Regions from separate parts of the Homo sapiens genome. Here regions 1, 2 and 3 are each linked to region 4. Evidence: promoter capture Hi-C in 16 types of primary human blood cells and fetal thymus (Javierre and others, 2016). All regions are on one chromosome and are shown on one strand. Each heading gives the region's core, a stretch centred on a gene start or on the middle of the fragment in contact. The rest is flanking DNA. Distances are from core to core; before and after follow the strand shown.

Region 1 (2,981 bases), core at 482-2,981, 330 kb after region 4:
ACCCAGCTAATTTCTTATTTTTTGTAGACATGGGGTCTCACTATGTTGCCTTGGCTAGTCTTGAATTCCTAGGCTCAAGAGATCTTCCTGCCTTGGCCTCCCGAAGTGCTAGGATTATAAGCATGAGCCACTATGCCCGGCCTGTATATTTTTTTACAGCCTGTCTCTGTCAACTGCAATGTCAACTCCAGGGGAGAGTGCTGGTTCAATGGTTTTCTTCCTCAAACAAGAGACGTGACTCTGAGGGACTTGTCCTTCCAGCTACAGGGGTCAGGAATTCAGAAGTGATTAGGGACCCATCCGTATCCCCTGGAACTCATCTGCTAGAGTAAACGTACAAATAGATAATTTCAAGACAAAGGCAGTTTACTTGCAGAGCTGAGTCAGGGCAAGGAGTGAGGAATTCTGCCCTGGGTCCAGAAAGGAGTAACACTGTAGCGGCTACTTCATAGCCCGCCTCCTGTCCCCTCATGCTGGGCCTCCTAGCCTGCAGGGACCTCACCTGTGGATGCAGCGGTCCGGGCAGAGCTCAGCCTCATAGAAGCCATCCCGGCAGTCCTTTCCTACAAGCTCGTGGGGGTGAGGCCGGTGAGGAGGGTCCTTGGTGACCAGGGAGATGCGCACTGTCCCTGGTCCTGTGTAGCCATTGATCTGTCCAAAGTACAGAGGCCCAGACATCCAAACCTGACTCCCAAACACAGAGGGCTGGGGTTCCACAGTCCCTTCCCCGCACACCCTGGCGCAGTGCTGACCTTGATGGTGGGGTGGGTCTTGGTGGTATCTGTGCTCCTCTCGCCTGGGATGCTGCCCGCGGAGCGCCCCTCGCACTTGTAGCGGAAGCGCATGCCCCGCTGCTTGGGCTGCTCAATGATCTCCACATAGGGGCCAGAGGCCTGGGCTGGCTCTGCCAGGGGACACCGCAGCCCCATTAGGCGGCTGCCCCCACTGCCCTACCCCAGGGAGCACCTCCCCGACCGCCGCGGGGGCCACTTACCTGCCGGGAAGATGAGGGGGAACAGTTCTGAAAGGGGAGGGAGATCAGGGTCAGCACACACCCAATGCCCATTCTCACAAGGAGGAATCTGCTCTCCACGGAGAGGAGAAGCCAGGCTCCCTCCCAGGGGAACTGAGTCAGGACCTGCTCCCTAGAACCTGCGGTGAAACTAAGGGGTGGAGGAAAGGAACCAGAAACACCTGCTTCTTGAGGGAAAACGGGGTAAGGAATCCTTCTTCTCCAGAGGGAAGCTGAATCAGGGCCTGTTGTACTTTCTTAAGGAAAATTGAGGGAGGGCACGCCCCACCTCCCTCCAGAGAGGAAACTGAATCAGATGCGTTCTCCCCTAATAGGGAAACGAAGCCAGAGCTGCCCCCATGGACGGTGTGGAGGGAAACTGAGTCAAGGTTCCCTCTGCTCCCCCACCCAGGGAGGATGCTGAGTCAAGGGCCACCCCCTCCACCCAGAGGGGAAACTGAGTCAGACCCCTCCCCGCCTGCCCCGCCCCGCGCCACCATCCGGCAGGCCGACCGCTCCCTGCGCAGCGCCCGTCGGCGCAGGAAGGGGCGGAAAGCGGCGCGGGGGCTCCCGCCACAGCCGCGGCGGCCCCGGCGATGCCACCCCGCGGGGTCAGAGGGCGACCTCACCGTCCATGGCCGGGGTCCCGGGGGCGGGGCCGGGGTCGCAGCTGGGCCCGCGGCGTGCACTACAGACGAGCCATTCGCCAGAGGCGGAAATGCGCCGCGCGGCCCGCCGTCGCGTCACTGCCCGGAATCCGGCCGCGCCTGCGCGCTGCCCCGCCGCCGCCCGGCGCAGGGGCCGGGAGCAAGTGCACGCCGCGCGGAGGACGAAGAGGCTGCACGCACAGCCGCTGCCGGGGGTCGGGGCCAAGTGCGCGCCTCGCCGAGGACGAAGAGGCTGGCGTGCCCGGTGGCTCGGCTAGCTCCCGGGTCCCGGCCCCGCCTGGAGGGTGGGTCCGCCGATTACTCACTTTGTTTTTAGGGGATTTCAGGGCCCCCTCCCGCCGATCGGCGGAGTTTGGTGATGTCACTCTGGGCCGGGTCTGGAGCAAAGCCAGGGCTACTGGGCTGCGGCCGCCCGCCCCGCGCAGGGAAAAGCCCGACCGGGCCTTCTGCTCCGCAGAGGCCGGGTGGTTGAACTCCGCGCGGGTTTCCTAACCGCTAAAGGTGCCTTTCGGTGGTGGCTGTCTCAGAAGCACGTTAAAATGTCCTACCCACCCCAATCTAGATGCGGCTGTGGGGGAATGGGAGCGGCCGGACCTCCCAGCCTGACAGTGCATCAAGAGCTTTGCGGAGCCTACAGCCCGGATGGGACGACTGAGGCCCTCCCGCTGGCGAGCTGGCCGAGGGCTCGTCCCTCTCCAGCTAAAGCGCCAGCTTACGATACAGCCAAACTGCCGGCTCTCATCGGCTGTGGGAGCAGGAGGCCCCCAGGGGTAAATCCCGGAGCCTCGTCTCTGAAGCCTGGCGCTTGTGTCTCAGAAGGTGCGGGACCCACAGGGACACTTGAATCAGCAGGCTCACGACCCCCCACCCCCCTGCCCCCGCCTGTGTTTGCCCTGGACCTCCAGCTAGGGCTGACCACTAATTCTGTCATGTGACCCCACAGTGCAGGTAGCTCCCCCAAGACCAAGCCCAAGGCGCGTCCGTGTGGAGGCTGGGGCTGACGCACCCCCACCCCAGGCCTCATCCCCAAAGGAGGATGCTCCACTGCAGGGGGCGGAGTCTTCTCCAGATGGAGAAAGACTTTTTTATTTTCTCTGAATTCGTCTTAAATTAGGAAATCATGTGGGAATTGGAAAAGATTGGAAATTCTGACTTGTTTCCCAGGCTCTGAAGAAACAGGAAGAGAAAAGTGAAAATAGAGTTAGCACCCCGCCCACTCATTTCAGTTTCTCCAGTGGCTGGCCCTGATTAGAAAAGTGTTTACTTTTGGCAGGGGGCGGGGGAGGCCGACTTCAGGTGAC
Region 2 (2,992 bases), core at 454-2,953, 270 kb after region 4:
GATACTCAAGAGGCTGAGGCAGGAGAATGGCATGAACCCAGGAGGCGGAGCTTGCAGTGAGCCAAAATCACACCACTGCACTCCAGCCTGGGCAACAGAGCGAGACTCCGTCTCAAAAAAAAAAAAAAGCAAATTCTTGTTTGATGAAGAATCCATTTTTATAATCCTTGCACCAACCACGAGGTTATCATATCACCCCCACTTCGCAGGTGAAGAACTGATCATTTACAGTGAGTTTAAACAGAAGAGGGGAAATCATGTTTAAAAAAAAGAAAGAGTTGGCCGGGTGCGGTGGCTCACACCTGTAATCCCAGCACTTTGGGAGGCCAAGGTGGGCGGATCACGAGGTCAAGAAATCGAGACCATCCTGGCCAACATGGTGAAACCCTGTCTCTACTAAAAAATACAAAAATTAGCAGGGCATGGTGGCACGCACCTGTAGTCTCAGCTACTTGGGAGGCTGAGGCAGGAGAATCGCTTGAACCCAGGAGGCGGAGGTTACAGTGAGCCGAGATCCCGCCACTGCGCTCCAGCCTGGGTGACAGAGTGAGACTCCATCTCAAAAAAAAAAAAAAAAAAAGCAAGAGAGGCTGGGAGTGGTGGCTCAAGCCTATAATCCCAGCACTTTGGGAGGCCAAGTAGGGCAGATCACTTGAGGTCAGGAGTGCATGACTAGCCTGGCCAACATGGTCAAACCCTGTCTCTACTAAATACAAAAATTAGGCCGGGCATGGTGGTTCACGCTTGTAATCCCAGCACTTTGGGAAGCTGAAGCAGGTGGCTCACTTGAGGTCAGGAGTTCGGGACCAGCCTGGTCAACATGGTGAAACCTCATCTCTACTACAAATACAAACATTAGCCGGGCATTGTGGCACATGCCTGTAATCCCTGCTACTTGGGAGGCTGAGGCAGGAGAATCACTTGAACCTGGGAGGTGGAGGTTGTAGTGAGCCGAGATTGCACCACTGCCCTCCAGCCTGGGCAACAGAATGACACTTCATCTCAAAAAAAAAAAAATTAGCTGGGCATGGTGGCACATGCCTGTAATCCCAGCTACTGGGGAGGCTGAGGGAGAATTGCTTGAACGTGGGAGGTGGAGGCTGAAGTGAGCTGAGGTCGCACCACTGCACTCCAGCCTGGGTGACAGAACAAGACTCCTTCTAAAAAAAAAAAAAGAAAATAGCAAGAGCAAGCTGGGTGTGGTGGCTCACACCTGTAATGCCAGCACTTTGGGAGGCTGGGGTGGGTGGACTACTTAAGCGCAGCCCAGCCTGGGCAACATGGCAAAACCCCATCTCTACAAAAAATATAAAAATTAGCCAAGCATGGCATGCACCTGTAGTCCCTGCTACTCAGGAAGCTGAGGTGGGAGGATCACTTGAGCCTGGGAGGCAGAGTTTGCAGTGAGCCATGATCATGCCATTGCAGTCCAGCCTGGGTAACAGAATGAGACTCTATCTTTAAAAAAATAAAAGACAGAAATGAGACAAAGGGAAGAGAAGATAGGGTCCAGCAGACAAAATGAGAGTGAACAGAAGTTCCTGCAGTCAATGGCCTGAGAAACTGAGGTTCTGAAGGGTAAGGGACTTGGTCAACATAATCCAGCTAGGATTTGAATCTGCCTCTAAGCTTCCTGGCAGCAAGAGTTAGCAACTCTGTTGTTTAGGAGAAAGCTGCGTGACTATTCTTGACCCAAAGATAGATAGATAGAGGCGAAACTGCTTCCGTGAGGTCTCACAGGGAGGACACAGCCACGTAGTTATTGGCTCTAAGGCAACAAGCTTCACAGGGCAGTTGCTATCAGCGTAGCTGAGTGCACCCTGCCAATGTGCCACTCCTTGCAGCCAGCTCTCCAGGGACCAGAACAGCCCACTGGGGACAGGGTGAGGGTGTGTGTGACTCTCCAGTGGTATGGCTTATGCCGGGGACCATCTCACAGGGTCTGGGACCTCTGTGAAGCCCCATTATTTGATTCTTAGCTGGGTTTCGGGGGGTGGCTGTGAGGTCAATGTCATGTACTTTCATGGACCCAGATGATGCGTGGAGTGTGGGATTGGGCTAGGGGAACCAGATGCTCAGCCAGCCACTGAGCTGGGCAGCTGACATCCTTTCAGGGCAAGTGGCAATCCATTTCTTCATCAGCCAGGAAGGGCACTGGTGTTGAGGCCGACATACTTATCAAGAACAGTAACTACCATGGTTTCCAGTGCTTTCATGAAACCTCAGACATGTGGCCTTCTGGCCACACATCTGCAATTTCATATTGTGGGAGCATTCACTGTATCCCTGGGGGCTGCGGCTCTCTCAGTTTGCAGGGGCTGGACCAAGAAAGAAGGCATTTCAGATTTCTATGGGCACAGATGTCTACAGAAGTTATGATGCCATGAAATACTTCGAGGAGATGAGGAAGGCTGCTATCTCTCAGAATGCAAAGTGATTTTGGAATATGAAGAATTTCTTTGGGTTGAATTACTTAGAAGTTTGTCACTGATCTGAACTATTCATGAATATATGGGCTAATAAGTAGTTTCTCTTCATAAATAATTAACAAATTCTTTGGATAAAAAAACATGGGGCAAGCTTGAGAACGATGGGGCCCAGGCCCCTTGTGCCCCTGCTTCTGGGAGCTGAGGGCCAGAGAGTTCTGTGGAACAGTCAGGACCTGCTTCAGCCTACACACCTGGGTTGACAGGCTCTCAAGTTCTCCTTTGGCCCATCTGGCCTGGTACAATTTAGAGCAAGTGAATTCAAGAAGCCTCCTTGGCCTTCCAGCTCTCAGTTCAGTCCCTGCAGGACAGATGCTGGGGGCAGTGCAGCTGCTGGAGTAGCAAATGGCGGGGCAGATGGAGGCCCAGGGCTCTGCCTCTGTGGTCAGACAGGCAAGAGCAGATCAAATCCCTGCTCTACTGGTTGCCTTACATCAAACCACTTAATCTCTCTGTGCCTCAGTTTTCTCTGTTGTAAAATGCAGGCCAATACTACTACTCCCCTC
Region 3 (2,799 bases), core at 1-2,500, 300 kb after region 4:
ACATTCCTTGCTTGGACAGCAGTGCCCCTGAGAGTGGCACACCTATGGGTGCCCTGGGCGACTGGCCTGCCCCTATTGAGGAGCGTGAGAGCCCGGCAGCCCAGCCCCTGCTGGAACACCAGTACTGAGCTACCTGGCGCCCACTGGACCACCTCCTAGGATTCAGTAACGGACCTGCTCTGCTGCCTCTCTGCTGGACCACAGAACTGAGTGGCTTTGGCCTACATGTCTGAACCCTGACCTTTGGCTGCCTTGGCCAGAGTACCAAAACTGAGTGACCCAGACCTCTGACCTTGACCCCTGATCTCTCTCATCCCCAGTCCAGGGCCTGGGCTCCCCAGATGGAGGCAGTCAGCCTCCCAGCCAGGCCCTAAGAGCCAAACCATGGGCTGGTCCCACTTGGAGCCTGTGGCCAGGACCACCTCAGCCCCTGGGCCTGCACTGCCTGCAGGTGTGGCCCCCTTGGCCTGGACCTGGGGCCTGAATTGTGGGAAGGGTGGTTTCTTTCTTTCCTTTTTTTTCTTTTCTTTTTTTTTTTTTTTTTTGTGCTTCGGAGACATCAGAATTAATAACACTATTTTTGATTTTGGTTGGCAGTTTCTTTTTCTACCTGGGAATGGGTACATGATAGTACAGGCGGCTAAGTTGGGATGGACAAGCACGCAGAGGGGTGAAGGATGTGGGGCTGAAGTCTAGTAGAGATCAAGGGCAGACCAAGGTGGGGTTCAGGTAGAACCGGGTCCTCTTCACCGCATGGCTGCTCCCTTTTCAAGCCTTTATCTGAAGGGTATTGTCTGCCATTTCCCACCATATGGTCAGACTTCCAGGTCTGGTGGCTCCTACATTTATCAGGCTTGTTCTTGGCCAAAGCCTTTCTCTGCACCTCAGCTGCTCCAGGGCGTAAAGAGATGACACCTATCTAAGGTGTTTTTAGAATAAATGAGAGCGCGCTAGTGGAATGGTTGCCCAGGGCCCAGTGCTTAGCAAGTGCTCCATAAAATAGTGGCAGACTCTTGAGCACCTGCTGGCCGGGAGCTGGACGCTAGGTGGCCTCCGCTAGCCCTCCCGGTTGGTCTGGAAGGCAGGCACAAGTTTCTCAGGAGAGGAAATGGCCTTAGAATGAGCACTGCTCGGTGCTGACCTCCGCCAGGCCTGGAATCCCCGCTGCTGCGCTTCCCGCCGCAGACAGCTCCCGGCCGGCCCCGCCTCCCGGCATGGCCCCGCCTCCCAGCATGGCCCCGCCCCCAGGCGGAGCCGGCGCCGGGAGCGGTAGCGGGAGAGCGGCAGCGGGACCCCAGCGCGGGCGGCGGCGGCTGGGCGGGAGCCCCAGAGGTACTGGCGGGAGCAGGGGACGGGAGGCACTACTGTCGGGCCCGACAGGGGAGAGGTGGCCTAGCCGTGGGCCCGGGTGATGTGTATGGGAGTGGGGTCCTCGCCACGTTCGCCGCCAGCACCCTCCCAACTTCCCTCCGGGCTCCAGCTCAGTCCCGAGTCAATATGTCCAGCCCCCTGTCTCTGACCAGCCGTTCCTACTCTCTCTGTGTGACGGCTTAGCCTGGCCAGCCAGCCGGTGAGTGGAAGCGGCGGCTCCTGACTCCTGGTGGCGGCACTGTGACCCCCTCCCCCTCAACACTGCAAGTGTGTGCGGGGCTCCCCCTTATTCTGAGGCTCCTCTTCTTCTTAGGCGGCCTCCACCCCAGTCCCTGGCCTGGCCTGGGAGGAAACATCTGTCGCGCCCCCTGGCAGCCGAAATGGGGTCATGACCTCCAGATGTGCTGGGAAGTGGCCAGCTCCTCCTCCTGGGGCAGCCAGGCCTTCCGGATCTGTGGGGGCGGGGCCGGCCCTTTCCCCCCACCCCTAGTGACACAGGCCCGGAGGAATGTCCTAGCCTCAATGGACCCTGTGTGAAGCTTCAGGGTGGGGGGCAGAGCCCGAGAACACCCCTCAAGGCAGCGCCAGAGCCTGGCACTGGGCCACAGCAAGAGGCAGCGCACAGGCTGGGTGCACACATGCACAGATCTCACTTCCAAGCGTGCAGAGCTCAGCCCACAAGGAGCGGGGCTTGCACAGACCCCCTCCCTCATGCCCTCCTACTCCTTCACACACTATAGCCCAGGCCCGAGCGCTGAATGTGCCCAGAGCTTGGCTCATGGAGCCAGGGGCTACACCCGTCACACACACACATAGCTAGCGACACTCACCTCATTCTTCTCAGTCTCTCAGCAGCCTTGGGAGGGGACAGAAATAATTAAACCCAATTTTTTTCTTTGTTTTTTTGGAGACAGTCTCACTCTGTCCCGCAGGCTGGAGTTCAGTGGCGCGATCTCGGCTCACTGCAACCTCTGCCTCCCAGGTTTAAGCGATTCTCCTGCCTCAGCCTCCTGAGTGGCTGGGACTACAGGTGCGCACCACCACACCCGGCTAATTTTTATGTTTTTAGTAGAGACAGGGTTTCACCATGTTAGCTAGGCTGGTCTTGAACTCCTGACCTCAGGTGATCCCCCCGCCTTGGCCTCCCAAAGTGCTGGGATTACAGGCCACAGCCACCGCACCCGGCCAGTTAACCCCATTTTAGAGATGAGAAAACAGAGGCTCAAGGTCAGCATGGGAGTTTATTCAGGAGAAATCAAGGTAGAAGCACCTGGGCTGGGGAGCCGACTCTTGCTTGGTTCTGGAGGCCCCAGACGAAGGGTGTGTGGAGCCCCTCCTCCACCCCCCTCCGGCCCAGCCCCGCATGATGTTGCTGGATGCTGCATGAAGACCCACCATTAGATGCCTGTACCCCCAGTGGAGGTTCCC
Region 4 (2,700 bases), core at 165-2,664:
TCTTGTACAGCTTTATTTTTTTTTTTTTGAGACGGAGTCTCGCTCTGTCACCCAGGCTGGAGTGCAGTGGCGCGATCTTGGCTCACTGCAAACTCCGCCTCCCAGGTTCACGCCATTCTCCCACCTCAGCCTCTCCAGTAGCTGGGATTACAGGCGTCCGCCACCATGCCCGGCTAATTTTGTTTTTGTATTTTTAGTAGAGATGGGGTTTCACCATGTTAGCCAGGACGGTCTCGATCTCCTGACCTCGTGATCCGCCCACCGTGGCCTCCCAAAGTGCTGGTATTACAAGCGTGAACCAATGCTCCTGGCCTGTTTTTTTTTGTTTTTTTTTTTTAAGAGACAGGATCTTGCTATGTTGCCCAGGCTGGTCTTGAACCCCTGGGCTCAAGTGATTCTCCCACCTCACCCTCTCAAGTAGCTGGGATTACAGGCATGAGGCATTGCACTCAGCTTCTTGTACAGCTTTCTTGTGTGTATATCCAGGAGTGGACTTTGCTGGGTCATAGGGTATGTGTATTTTCAGCTTTAGTGATTATATTTATATATATATATATATATATACATATGTATATATATACATATGTATATATATGTGTATATATATATATGTATATATGTGTATATATATATGTGTATATATATATGTATATATATTTTTTTTCCTTTTTTTTTTTTTTTTTCTTGAGATGGAGCCTCGCTCTGTTGCCCAGGCTGGAGTGCAGTGATGTGGCTCCAGTGGCTCACTGGAGCCTCAAACTCCTGGGCTCAAGTGATCCTCCCACCTCAGCCTCCCTAGTAGCTGGGATTACAGGCATGCACCACCATGCCCAGCTAATCTTTTTTCTTTTTCTTTTTTTCCTTTATTTATTTATTTATTTATTGAGAAGGAGTCTCGCTCTGTCGCCCAGGCTGGAGTGCAGTGGCGCGATCTCGGCTCACTGCAAACTCCGCCTCCCGGGTTCACGCCATTCTCCTGCCTCAGCCTCCCGAGTAGCTGGGACTACAGGCGCTCGCCACCACACCCGGCTAATTTTTTGTATTTTTAGTAGAGACGGGGTTTCACCGTGTTAGCCAGGATGGTCTCCATGTCCTGACCTCGTGATCCGCCCGCCTCGGCCTCCCAAAGTGCTGGGATTACAGGCGTGAGCCACCGCGCCCGGCCCCGGCTCCTGCTCCTCTAAATATTAGAGGCAAGCCTCGAACCGGAGCTCCGGGATGCATGCCAATCTCCGGTTGCGCCTGCGCGTCGGGCTCCCGTGGGGTCCACGCATTTCCTACCCGGCCCCCGCGAACAGGCGTAAAGCTCTTTCTTCAGTGCTCGCTCTAGTGCGCGCGCCCGGACGGCGCCTGCGCAGAGGGCAAGGAACCTGGTACCCCGGTGCGGTCCCGGCGCCTGCGCGCTGCGGACTGTGGGGCTTCTCGGCCCGAGGCAGAGGAACAGGGAAGATGGCGGCTGTGGTGGAGAATGTAGTGAAGCTGTGAGTGGTCGTTTCTTTCTCTCCTAGGGCGGCAGGTTTTGTAAAGGGCCTGGGAGTAGGGGGCGGTGGGGGAAGGGACTAGGCGGAGAGAGGGACATCCCCGGGAAAGCCATGTTGCGACTCCTGGTGGGGAGGGCAACAGGAGACTCCGGAGAAGACGTTGCGCTTCTTTGGAAACTTGTGGAGGCCCTGGTGGGGGCACACTGGAGCCCCGACGGGCGGCATCCCTGCGGGGCTGTGTGGCCTCAGCGTTCCTCGGGGCTGACGGTTTCCAGAGCATGGCGCCCTGCCTGCACGCGAGACTCACCGTCCCGGTCCTCTCCCGAGACGCCTCAGTCCGGAGGAGCGGGGCCGAGGCCCGGGCGGCCCTACGGCTGGCCCGCCGCCCACCCCGCCCCGTCCCGTCCCGTTCGCTGCAGCAACAGGCTCGGCGGCCCCTGCGGAGTGCACTGCGGGGCTGGCTGTTTCAGTTCCAGGCAGCCCCGTGATGTTTGGGAGGATCTTGGGTGGCAGGTACCTAAGACTACAAATATTCTTGGGAAGAATTTATCGAGGAGCGGATCCAGAAGGGAAGGAACTTCAGGGGAGTGGGCCTTGGCCCCGTCCAGTAGCAGCCATCAAAAACCTGCAACTGGACCGAAGCCGTTCAGGACAGCTTAGCCTAAAGGGGCATCTAGGTGGGCATTCTTCCTATTATACGATACCATTGTGCTGGTCAGATTTCAAGCAAAGTTAAAGTTAATAGCTGTTGGGGCCATGGACGCTGGCCTATGAACTGCTTCCTGTGAGTTAAAGATGCTTTGGGACTTGATTTATTCCTACAGAAGAATCAGAATGAGTTTTAGATTGGGTTAATGCATGGTGGGCGAATAGAGCTTCTTTTAATGGGTATGTTGGGCTTGGTGCAAGGGTGGGAAAATTGAGTGGTGTCTAGCTGTCCAGTCAGGGTTTTTGCATTTTGACTGGATGACGAGGTAAAGGTTCGGTAACTCTTCTAAGGGACTCACAGCTTCTCATCTGTCTTTGTCGTGGCCTGAGCCCCACTCTTCCTAAGAGCCTTTTTAAAGAGTAAGTTGCTTCTCCCTCCTGCCTGAAGCCTTTTCTTTGAGAATGCTTTCCCACTTCCATTAAGCTAAGTGCCTTTCCTCCTCTTGTGGTTTGTTTTTTTTTTTTTTAAGTTGCTTTCTGCTCTATCCTGCTGTCTCTTTCAGCCACCCCT

The links. Contacts are between HindIII fragments. The CHiCAGO score rates a contact against its expected background, and 5 or more counts as called.
Region 1: a contact is called between the fragment with the promoter of RELA here and the fragment with the promoter of DPF2 in region 4, in 1 of 17 cell types (neutrophils). The highest score is 5.8, in neutrophils.
Region 2: a fragment that was not itself captured here is called in contact with the fragment with the promoter of DPF2 in region 4 in 1 of 17 cell types (megakaryocytes); the score reaches 5.1 in megakaryocytes.
Region 3: a contact is called between the fragment with the promoter of SIPA1 here and the fragment with the promoter of DPF2 in region 4, in 1 of 17 cell types (neutrophils). The highest score is 5.4, in neutrophils.

Annotation. Positions count from the first base shown.
Region 1 is chr11:65,661,185-65,664,165 of GRCh38, forward strand. RELA (RELA proto-oncogene, NF-kB subunit) reads right to left here and starts at 1,732. Exons shown (of 11, transcript NM_021975.4): 1 at 1,642-1,732; 2 at 995-1,021; 3 at 753-904; 4 at 503-651. The coding sequence starts at 1,648. RELA-DT (RELA divergent transcript) reads left to right here and starts at 1,822. Exons shown (of 4, transcript NR_183625.1): 1 at 1,822-1,964. RefSeq lists silencers at 1,419-1,478, 1,539-1,948 and an enhancer at 2,039-2,238. The HindIII fragment of the contact is 22,197 bases long and covers 1-2,981 here.
Region 2 is chr11:65,601,642-65,604,633 of GRCh38, forward strand. All of the region lies in intron 8 of MAP3K11 (mitogen-activated protein kinase kinase kinase 11), which reads right to left. Among named protein-coding and RNA genes, the nearest start is that of KCNK7, 7.3 kb to the left of the region's middle. The HindIII fragment of the contact is 152 bases long and covers 1,628-1,779 here.
Region 3 is chr11:65,636,851-65,639,649 of GRCh38, forward strand. SIPA1 (signal-induced proliferation-associated 1) reads left to right here and starts at 1,251. Exons shown (of 16, transcript NM_006747.4): 1 at 1,251-1,332. PCNX3 (pecanex 3) reads left to right here. Exons shown (of 35, transcript NM_032223.4): 35 at 1-589. The coding sequence ends at 128. RefSeq lists enhancers at 72-862, 1,814-1,883 and a silencer at 1,094-1,463. The HindIII fragment of the contact is 3,649 bases long and covers 1-1,908 here.
Region 4 is chr11:65,332,438-65,335,137 of GRCh38, forward strand. It overlaps DPF2 (double PHD fingers 2), which reads left to right and starts at 1,415. Exons shown (of 11, transcript NM_006268.5): 1 at 1,415-1,481. The coding sequence starts at 1,450. RefSeq lists an enhancer at 1,667-1,716 and a silencer at 1,767-1,856. The HindIII fragment of the contact is 9,595 bases long and covers 1-2,700 here.